Regions from separate parts of the Homo sapiens genome. Here region 1 is linked to region 2. The links are contacts of gene promoters, found by promoter capture Hi-C in human tissues and cell types (Jung and others, 2019). All regions are on one chromosome and are shown on one strand. Each heading gives the region's core, a stretch centred on a gene start or on the middle of the fragment in contact. The rest is flanking DNA. Distances are from core to core; before and after follow the strand shown. Region 1 overlaps RSPRY1 (ring finger and SPRY domain containing 1). Region 2 holds the start of DOK4 (docking protein 4).

The links. Contacts are between HindIII fragments. The study calls those that stand out against the background at their distance.
Region 1: a contact is called between a fragment that was not itself captured here and the fragment with the promoter of DOK4 in region 2, in 2 of the 25 tissues and cell types used here (lymphoblastoid cells and spleen).

Annotation. Positions count from the first base shown.
Region 1 is chr16:57,222,340-57,227,350 of GRCh38, reverse strand. RSPRY1 (ring finger and SPRY domain containing 1) reads right to left here. Exons shown (of 15, transcript NM_133368.3): 11 at 1-9. Among named protein-coding and RNA genes, the nearest start is that of ARL2BP, 20 kb to the left of the region's middle. The HindIII fragment of the contact is 5,127 bases long and covers 1-4,265 here.
Region 2 is chr16:57,482,944-57,487,742 of GRCh38, reverse strand. DOK4 (docking protein 4) reads left to right here and starts at 1,250. Exons shown (of 9, transcript NM_018110.5): 1 at 1,250-1,438. RefSeq lists a silencer at 1,070-1,369 and an enhancer at 1,201-1,997. The HindIII fragment of the contact is 12,171 bases long and covers 1-4,799 here.

The DNA of each region.
Region 1 (5,011 bases), core at 453-2,952, 260 kb after region 2:
GTAGCCTTCCTGGAGAGAGACAAGGCCCAGAAGATTAGCAAGTCTGCCTGCTCTGACCTGGGAACAGAGAGTGTGTCTTTTACGACCACTGACCTAATGGCTGGGATTCTAAGCTTTCTGGATGATGAGAGAGCTCATGGTTTTTTGAAAATACTAAAATTATGACTTAGAGGGCTGGTTCCAAGTGAATAGATAATGACTTCACCAACAAATATTTTCCCAGTGCCTCCTTTGTTCAGGCACTTTCACATTTGTTAGTTCATTTAATTCTCACTAACATTATCATGAGGCTGGTGGCATCAGACTCCATTTTAAGAGGAAACAAAGGCTCAAAGAGGTCAACCAGCTTGCCCAAGCATATATTACTTGCCCAAGAAACAGAGCCAGGTTTGAACCTAAATTCTTCTGATTCCAAGATCAGTCAGTACACTTGTATATCAGCACAAGATTGTCAGAGGCATTCAAACCAGAGAGACTCCATCTTGAATAGGGGCAGGGTAAAATGAGGCTTAGACTTGCTGGGCTGCTCAGCTGCATTCCCAAGAGGTTAGGCATTCTTAGTCACAGGATGAGACAGGAGGTCAGCACAAGATACAGGTCACAAAGACCCTGCTGATAAAACAGGATGCAATAAAGAAGCCAGCCAGAAGCTGGCCAAAACCCACCAAAACCAAGATGGCAACAAAAGTGACCTCTGGTCATCTTCACTGTTCATTATATGCTAATTATAATGCATTAGCATGCTAAAAGACACTCTAACAGGTGCCATGACACTTTACAATGTCATGGCAGTTTGGAAGTTACCCTATATAGTCTAAAAAGGAGAGGAACCCTTGGTTCCAGGAATTGCCTGTCCCTTTCCCAGAAAACTCATGAATAATCCATCCCTGTTTAGCATATAATCGAGAAATAACTAAGTATACTCAGTTGAGCAGCCCACGCCACTGCTCTGCCTATAGAGTAGCCATTCTTCTGTTTCTTTAATAAACTTGTGAAAACACTTTATTCTATGGATTCGCCCCAAATTCTTTCTTGCGCGAGGTCCAAAAACCCTCTCTTGGGATCTGGATCCAGACCCTTTCCAGTAACAAGATCAGATCAGGCAAATACCTTTCTTGCATGTAGCAGACTTCAAAATACCCAAATATTCAGAGATTTCAAAACTGGAGATAAGAGAAAGGTTATAGTGGACACTCAGCTAAAAGCTATTCTGAAATCAGCTTGATTTGAGGATTGTACAGGTCCTTGGCAGTTTCTTCTTTTTTTTTCTTTGAGATGGAGTTTCACTCTTGTTGCCTAGGCTGGAGTGCAATGGCGCGATCTTGGCTCACCACAACCTCTGCCTCCCGGGTTTAAGCGATTCTCCTGCCTCAGCCTCCTGAGTAGCTGGGATTATAGGCATGCGCCACCAGGCCCAGCTAATTTTGTATTTTTAGTAGGGACGGGGTTTCTCCATGTTGGTCAGGCTGGTCTCGAACTCTAGACCTCAGGTGATCTGCCCGCCTCGGCCTCCCAAAGTGCTGGGATTACAGGCGTGAGCCACCGCGCCTGGCAGTTTCTTCTTTTTGTTACTTACTGCCTTTCAATTATTTCACAGAACTGTTAAAATAAAAGGGTGGCTGAGATCTTAAGAAATTATTTTGAGTGCTTATAAAAAATAGAAGCAGCATGCAAATCAGACAACTGCTATCTTTAAGGAACAATGGTGAAAAGTTTTACTAGAGAAAGAAATTGAAAATGGCCAAATCCAAGTAAGATCAGGTCCTGATGGCCTGCTTCTTCTATGGGGCAAACAATACAGTGAGGAGAGAGATTGGAAAAAAAGTTCTGATGAATGCAACAATGATTTTGTACTGGATTTTTGGATTACAACATACTGAATTTGGAGGAACGCTCTCCAAAGTGACTCTTCTGAAATAGCTATTGATATTCACTATTCAGACTACTCAAGAGTTAAATGAGCTTGCATCTAATTGCCTTAGAAATTCACCACCCAAGGCTGCCAAGAGCAGTGGCTCATGCCTGTAATTTCAGCACTTTGGGGGGCAGATCACTTGAGGCCAGGCATTTGAGACCAGCCTGGCCAACATGGCGAAACCCTGTCTCTACTAAAAATACAAAAATTATCCAGGTGTGGTGGCGCACACCTATAATCCCAGTTACTCTGGTGGCTGAGGCACAAGAATCGCCTGAACCTGGGAGGCAGAGGTTGCAGTGAGCAGAGATCACGTGCCACTGCACCCTGGCCTGGGTGACAGAGCGAGACTGTCTCAAAACAAAACAAAACAAAAGAAATTCACTACTTGCTAGAAAGAATGCCTTGCCACACCTTTCAAACGCTGAACAAGTCAGTAAGTAAAAAACTTAAAAACCACTAAAATGTAGGCATTGTGGCATAAGTAAAAGGCAAGCAATTCTTTTCTATCTTCACCTTCTAATGTCCTGAGAAGTCCTTGACAGAACACTTGAAAGAAATTCCTAGAAGCTAGCCACCATGAGTTGGTAAAGAGCAGACTCATTACACATTCTTTACCATGCAATGTCTTTGATGACTGGATAAGTTCCACAACAGAGTGGCACTGTAGCACAAAGAAGGAACTCTAATAACTTTAACTACAGAGCAGCATCTACAGATTTAAGGAGAAGATGCCTCTGCCTAGCAGAGATGCACTTTAAAAATCTCTTAAGCTTACATCTCAGAGAACAACCTAGATGTCCTACACCCTCTCTCAGCTCAAAATGTTCCCAGCAGGATTAATTTTGGTTTCCATTGGCTAGGACAGATAAATGAGAGAATAGAGTGGTTAGCTTGGTATTTATCTTGAACTACCTGTTTTTTGGTCATGCATATTTTAGCAATGGAAACATTACCAAATACAAACAAAAGAAAGTTTATCCACAGCTTGTCATTCAGGGAATAGTTTGAGTCTCTTTCCCACGTGGTGGACACTCTCCTTTTTCCTGCTGTAGGGCATCCCAACCGTTTCCTGTTAAGGGAAATGTATGAAGACAGTGTTCTGCCTCCTCCTTTGGAAGTGGAAAGGTAAGATATGACCTAGGCTTGGCCAGCTGGACCTTCCCATCAAACACTCAGTATGGTGCAAGTGACCCCAAACAGAGGGATAGTTAGGATGGATTTCCAGCAGCAATGGTGGCTGCATGCTGGCCAGATCGTTTCCCTAAAACACCGGCTATTGTACTTCCTGTTTCTTGGCCCTGACAGCCTTGGAGCCTGTCTAGTTCCAAAACTTCTCCATAATCTGGAGGCTCCGGAAAGGCTTCTAAATCATTCCTTTTCTGTCTGAGATAGCCAGAGTCATTTTCTCGAAGGCAGATGCTTCAACAGGGGAAGGAGCATGGGCTATCCTGGCCTGAAATCTCTAGCAGCTGGAGACTACATGGCTTTGGGGAAGTTTCTTAATTTCTCTCAACTTGATTTTCCTCATCTTTAAATGGCAGGATAATACCTTTCCAAACTCTCAAAAAGATTAAAGATAAATATGTGAAAGACCTCACAAAAGTGTCACATGACAGACACTCACAAAAAAGCAAAAGATATTTATTTATTTATTTATTTTTGAGACAGAGTCTCACTCTATCGCCCAGGCTAGAGTGCAGTGGCACTATCTGGGCTCAGTGCAACCTCTGCCTCCCATATTCCAGCAATTCTCCTGCCTCAGCCTCCCGAGTAGCTGGGATTACAGGCGCCCGCCACCACGCCCAGCTAATTTTTTATATTCAGTAGAGACGGGGTTTCACCATGTTGGCCAGTCAAACTCCTGACCTTAAGTGATCCACCCACCTCAGCCTCCCAAAGTGCTGGGATTACAGGTGTGAGCCACTGCGCCTGGCCAAAAGGCAAAAGATATTTTAGATAAATCAGAGTACACCCTTGGAGAGTTGCTCCTCCTAAGCCTCCATAAAAATATACAATACAACAAGACAAACTGTTCTGTAGGTTACCTGAACAGAACTATCCTTAAGCTTATTTTAATGACCTAACATTGAGCCCAGTGGCCAGCCTTTTAAAATGGAAACCTAAGCAGCAAGAATTCAAGTAAGAGGCACTATGCAGAGACTTAGAATCTTTTGAAACTGGGTGTATCCTAGGAATGACTTACTCCATAGAATCACACCCTGTCTGAATAGGCAAAAAGATTCAGAATCACCAGAACAATGTACATTTAAAGCAAAGTTTTAAATATGGCAACATCATTAAAATCCTGTATTTGGGAAAAGACATCGTATCAGACTTTATCAATTTCTAATAGGGAATCACCTAATGCTTGGATCAGGGAAGAGTGTTTGTTTTTAAAGAAACCAACAGCCTGTCAAGTGATCTGGAGGATAAAAAAACAGTATTTAAGTCTTTAACTTGACAAGCCAAAGGTCTGCAACTACATGGCAAAAGTTATAATTTCATCGAGCAGATGAAATGATCCAGCTTCACTGGTCATTAAAAAAACACATTTGTAACATTCAGTGCCAGACCTAGATCTGTAGTGTGTTTGCTGCCAAATCAGGAGAGACAAGTTTTATATCGAAGCTTCCTCCCTGGAAGAATCCCCTATTACTTCTAGTTCTAGAACAATTTTTCACTTCCAAATGAGGAAACTAGCTAATTCTCTGAGATTTTCCCCATTTTTGAATACAAAGAAAACAACTGTTGTAGAATAGGAAGGCCACTGAATTCTGGTATGAGTTTCTTCCTACTCTGTCTCAGTTTTCTCATCTGTGAAATGGAAATTGTAACAGTAAAAGCTATTGTGGGAATCAGATGATTGGCAGACTGGGGTCTAGTTCTCCACCCCAGACAGGAGTACAGACTTGACCTCTCCACTGGCCCTTTTCCTCCAATTTGTCTCTCTCCAGCCTAGGAGTTTTAATAATACACCATCAACAATTCCAGGGTGAAATACAGCCTTGCTGAAATAGGCCTTTAAAAATTATGCTTATAAGTAGGTCACCATGGGATGTGCCTGTAGTCTCAGCTATTCAGGAGGCTGAGGTA
Region 2 (4,799 bases), core at 1-2,500:
CTTGGCCATGGGCCTGGGGCTGGTTAGCTCAGGCTGATCACAGACACCACAATGACCATCAGGGAAATTTTCAGACATCCAGAGGCAGCCTCCTTTTAAGCTCCCTGGGCAAGGCTGAGGCCCAGGCGTCTCCGGGGCAGGGGCATGCATTCCATGGGTGGGTGTTGGGATCCTTGGTCCCTCACTGCTTTAGGCCTATTCCTCTGAGACACCTGGACAGTAGCTGGATGTGGAGGTATTTTCATTTCTCAGGATTTTGGCTGTTCAGGTGGCCTATTGTTTTGTTTTGTATATATGGTCTAAAGCAGTGGTTCTCACACATTCGTGTGCATCAGAATCACCTGGCCTGTTAAAACACACATTTCTGCTGGAAACCCCCAAAAATTCTGATTTCATAGGTCTGAGTAGGGCAGGGAATTTGCATTTCTAACAAGTTTCAAGGTGATGGGAAGCTTCTGGTCCAGGGACTACACTTTGAGAAGCCCTGGTGTAAAAAGGTACAGACGTGAAAACCAGAGGGGGGACAGCTCCTCCCCAGAGGAGGCACTGGGCAACTTCTCTTGTCCCTGCCTGGCACAGCTGAGGCCTGTGACTGGGGATTCCGACAGATCAGTGAGTCAACCACTGCACAGGCCCGAAGGGCAGAGGTGAGGGGGTTGGGGGCTGGGTGGGGGCAGCAATGAAGGGGAATGAAGTTTGAGCTTGAGGGCAAAGTCTCAGGGGGACCTAGAATGGGAGAACTGGATGTTTTGAGGGTGGAGAGGAGACCAGGGAAGACAGAGGTGCTGGTGCGGCTACTTGAGGAGGGGTAGCAGAGGAGGTCACTGTGGGGCTGGGAGAGCTGGGCTGTGAGGGCCCAGAGAGTCATGATGGGGTTAGGGGAGCAATGGGTGTGTATGTGATTCCTGAAGAAGTGAAGGAATTGAGATATGGGGGCTGGGAGCTGATGTGGCGTATGGGTGTGTATGTGATTCCTGAAGAAGTGAAGGGGTTGAGATGTGGGGGCTGGGAGCTGATGTGGAGTTCAGCTTTCAGGGGCTGAGAGGCCATGTGGGCTTTGGGGCCCAGGGAGGGGCGGTGGGAATGAGCTGGGGGTACCGGGGGCGACCTGAAGCGGGTGCGGGGGTGCCAGGGCGCCAGGGCAGAATCGCGCGTCCCGCGGCTCGGAGGAATACGGCGGGGGCCGGCCGCCAGGGCGGGGCAGGGGGCGGGGCGCAGCGGCGAGACCTGGCGGAGGGGGGAGCGGAGCGGAGTCCCAGCCGGAGCCCCAGCCGGAGCCCGATCCCTAGCCCTGCGGCCGCGCCTCCCTCGCCGTCCCCGCCTGGAGCCCGGCGCCGCCGCCGCCCTGCCGCCCCCGCCAGCCGCGCCGTGACGCGGGCATGAGCCTGCTCCGCGGCGCCGCTGAGCAGGCGCTCCTGGCCCGGGCCTCGGCGCCCAGGTAAATTGGGGGGCGTGAGGCAGGGAGGGGGACATAGGCCGCCCAGAGCCTGCAAGAGTCTCGGCGACTCCCACCCCTGAGGACCCTCAGTCACTTCCTGAACCTGAGGACGCTCCGTCCCATGGGACCTTCCTACTCTCGGGTGGGGAGCTTAGAGACCCGCCCCCCAAAAGCCAGTGCCTGGGCCCTGAAACTCCCTGCGCTCTCTCCACCCGCAGCTTTCCTCTCCGGGGGAGCCCAGGTCGCGAGCTGACCTCACCCGCACCCACACAAACCTCATCCGAGCAACCCAGGCCCTGCGCTCCCGGGCCTGCCCCCCCGGAAGGGGCATAACCCAGCCCCTGGCAGCTCCCAACCTTCTCTCTGCCTTCCTGCTCCTCCCCGGGGCCTCCTGTTCGCTCACCTCCTCCAAATTCCAAGAGATGATTTTCTGTACCCCAGCTGGCCCCCACTGCCGACCCCCTCCTGCCTATGGGGTTTCTCCCCACAGCCCAAACTCATGGCCAGCTGCCTCCTGTCCTTGAACCTTTCTCCATTGGCCCCCAAGGTCCTGTCCACCTTCTCCCCCAGGGCCCGCAAGGCCCTAGATCCAGTTACATGCTTTCTATTACTGAAAAGGGGCATGAGCCGAGGCTGGGCACCTGGGTGATGTGGCAGAGCAGGGGCTCTGTGCAGCCTGCCTGCCCCAAGCCATGGGGACACGTCAGTTGCTGGGGCGCTTCCGCTTGGATGGAGGGTGTGGGTTGGAGGGGTCTGATGGCCAGGGCAGCGAGGGGCCTGGCAGTATCTCTAGGAGACTCCACTTGGGCAGTGTGAGGTGGGCTTGCTTAGGGCAGGTTCTTTCCTGGACCCTTTCAGAGGGATGTGGCGCTGGTACAGGCTCTTCCTGCCCCCACCCCCAACTCTGATCCCAGGAGCTGTGCCTCCTCTCCCCAGTTGCTTGCCTTGCTGTGCTGGTACTGGTTACTCCCAGCACTTCCCTCCTGGGCAGGGCAGCAGGGCTGGGCATGACCTCACCCCACAACCCTGGCCAAGGTGGGGCCGCCCAACTAGGCCTGGCCTCGATGTCAGCAGCATGCTCTTCCCTGAGGCAGCTCTGAACCAAACTGCGGGTCTTGGGCACAGCTGGTTCTCCAGTAACAACAGCCTGCTGGCCATGCCAGTCAGCGCTGAGACCCAGGAGCTGGGAGCCCACTGTGGCTCACGCACCTCTGGAAGCTGAGCCAGGTCCAGCCAGATGGAGGCTGGTGGTGGTGGAAGAAAGGATGGGGAGGAGGACAAGTCCTGGAGAGAATTACGTGTTCAGCCCCCAAATATTGAGCATCTCCTTCCCACCGGGCACCATTCTGGGAGCTGGGATAGAGCTGTTAACTAGACAGACGAGGCCGAGCCACCAGGGAGCTGACATTCCAGATGTCTCTCTGTGGCCAGAAACAAATGGACAGATGTAAGAACAAGAAAATCCCATGGTGATGTGCGATGAAGACAGCCGCATCTGATGTTGTGAGAGAGGCTGACTAGTGGGGGTCCTTTGGTGAGGGTAGTCAGGGAAGGCCTCCTGGAGGAGGTGGATGAAGCAATGGAATGAACCATGAGCATGTGAGGGAACAATGTTGTAGGTGGGAAACAGCTAGTGCAGTGGTCCCTCGAGGGAGGGGTTTTGGCATGTTGAGGGGTGGGCAGGGGACCCAGGAGAACCAGAGTGGTACGGGGCCACAGCATTACTCTCCTGGCTTAAGGGTCTGGGGGACCATGGCTGTTCAGATGTCCCCTCCTTCTGCCGTCCCTGTCTGCCTAGATGGGTATTTGGTCTGTCTTTGCCATCCACCTTGATGGGACTCACCATGTTTTGGCCGGTGGCCCCTATGGGGATCTGTTGGGAGCACTCCCAGCCGGCCTCTGACAACAATCTTGGGGTGGGGTGGGGGCAGAGCAGCAGGTGATGGGAAATGGCTCTGGTGCTGGAGAGAATCCCACAGATCCAATCTTCGCCGTTGGATCGAGACAGCCAGACGACACTGAGATGGTGTCCAGGTAGGGCTGTTCCTGCAGCCCTGATAAGATCCGATCTGTCAGGGGTGGGGAGGCCCAGCCAGGCAGGCAGCCGCTCGCTCAGTCATTGGTTGCCAGCCTCAGCGCGTTTGTTCTGGAGCCAAAGCCTCCAGGCAGAATCCATGTGCGAGAGGGAGTGCTCAGCATGGCTGCCCTGTGGGGCAGGTGGGCAGTGAGGGCCCTGGGAGTCTCCCTACTCCCCGCCACCCCAGGACACCAGCCCTTCCTGGGGAGAGGAGCATTTTGGAGCTGGCTCTCCCTGCGCGGAAACCTGTGGTGGCCTGGCACCAGGCAGGTACTGTCCCTGGGTAAGCAGCAGTATTGGTACCAGGCTGGGAGGTGGGATGCGGGGGGCCCTTGCTCCCCTCCTCCCTCACTGGAACCCTGAGAGCGACTGCTGGACACCGTGCTTAGCTGGGAGCTCGGAGCTCACAGTGCTGGGGAAGGACCCAAGACCTCAGGTCCTCTCAAAGTAGCAAGCATTCTTCCTGCTGCAGGCCTGTTGGGGACAAGGGCCTGAGGGACAAACAGGGCAGGGGCTACTTCAACCCAATTCCTGGCCTGCCTAGCCTCAGCTGCCCTCCAATTTTTGTATTTTTTTAATTGATTTTTTTGAAATTTTTTAGAAACAGTCTCACTCTATCACCCAGGCTGGAGTGCAGTGGCTTGATCATAGCTCACTGCTACCTGGAATTCCTGAGCTCAAGTGATCCTCCCACCTCGGCCTCCCCAGTAGCTGTGACTACAGGCACGTGCCACATGCCCAGCTTATTTTTTCATTTTTTGTAGAGACGGGGTCTCTCTATGTTGCCGGATCTGGTCTTGAACTCCTGGCCCCAAGTGATCCTCCCACTTTGGCCTCCCAAAGTGTTGGGATTACAGGTGTGAGCCACTGTGCCTGGTCTGCTCTCCACTTCTTGCTGTCCTATTGGGCCTTCACAGGCTCAGCTTGGGGGCCGCCTCGCTTGCTTAACACAGTGCATTCCTTCTGGAGGATGGTGGGTTGGTTCTGGGCCCCCCCCTCACCACTTGACCCCACTGCCTGTCAAATTTGTGGGTCCACCTATTGGCCCTGACCTTTCCCTCCCCTTCCGAACCCCTCTTTGCCCACCATTTTGGGTCCTAGGTTAGGTCTTGCTCTTGCAAACATCATTAGGGACTAAGTGTGGCCAGGGGTCCCTGTGACTCAGGGCCGGAGTGAGCTGGCAGGACTTTGGCACCCAGCCTTCCCCGTGAAGGTCACTCTTCCCGCTGGGGACCTGGGGTATGGGACGGGGTGGGGCCTATGGACAGACGCAGCAGGAGCACT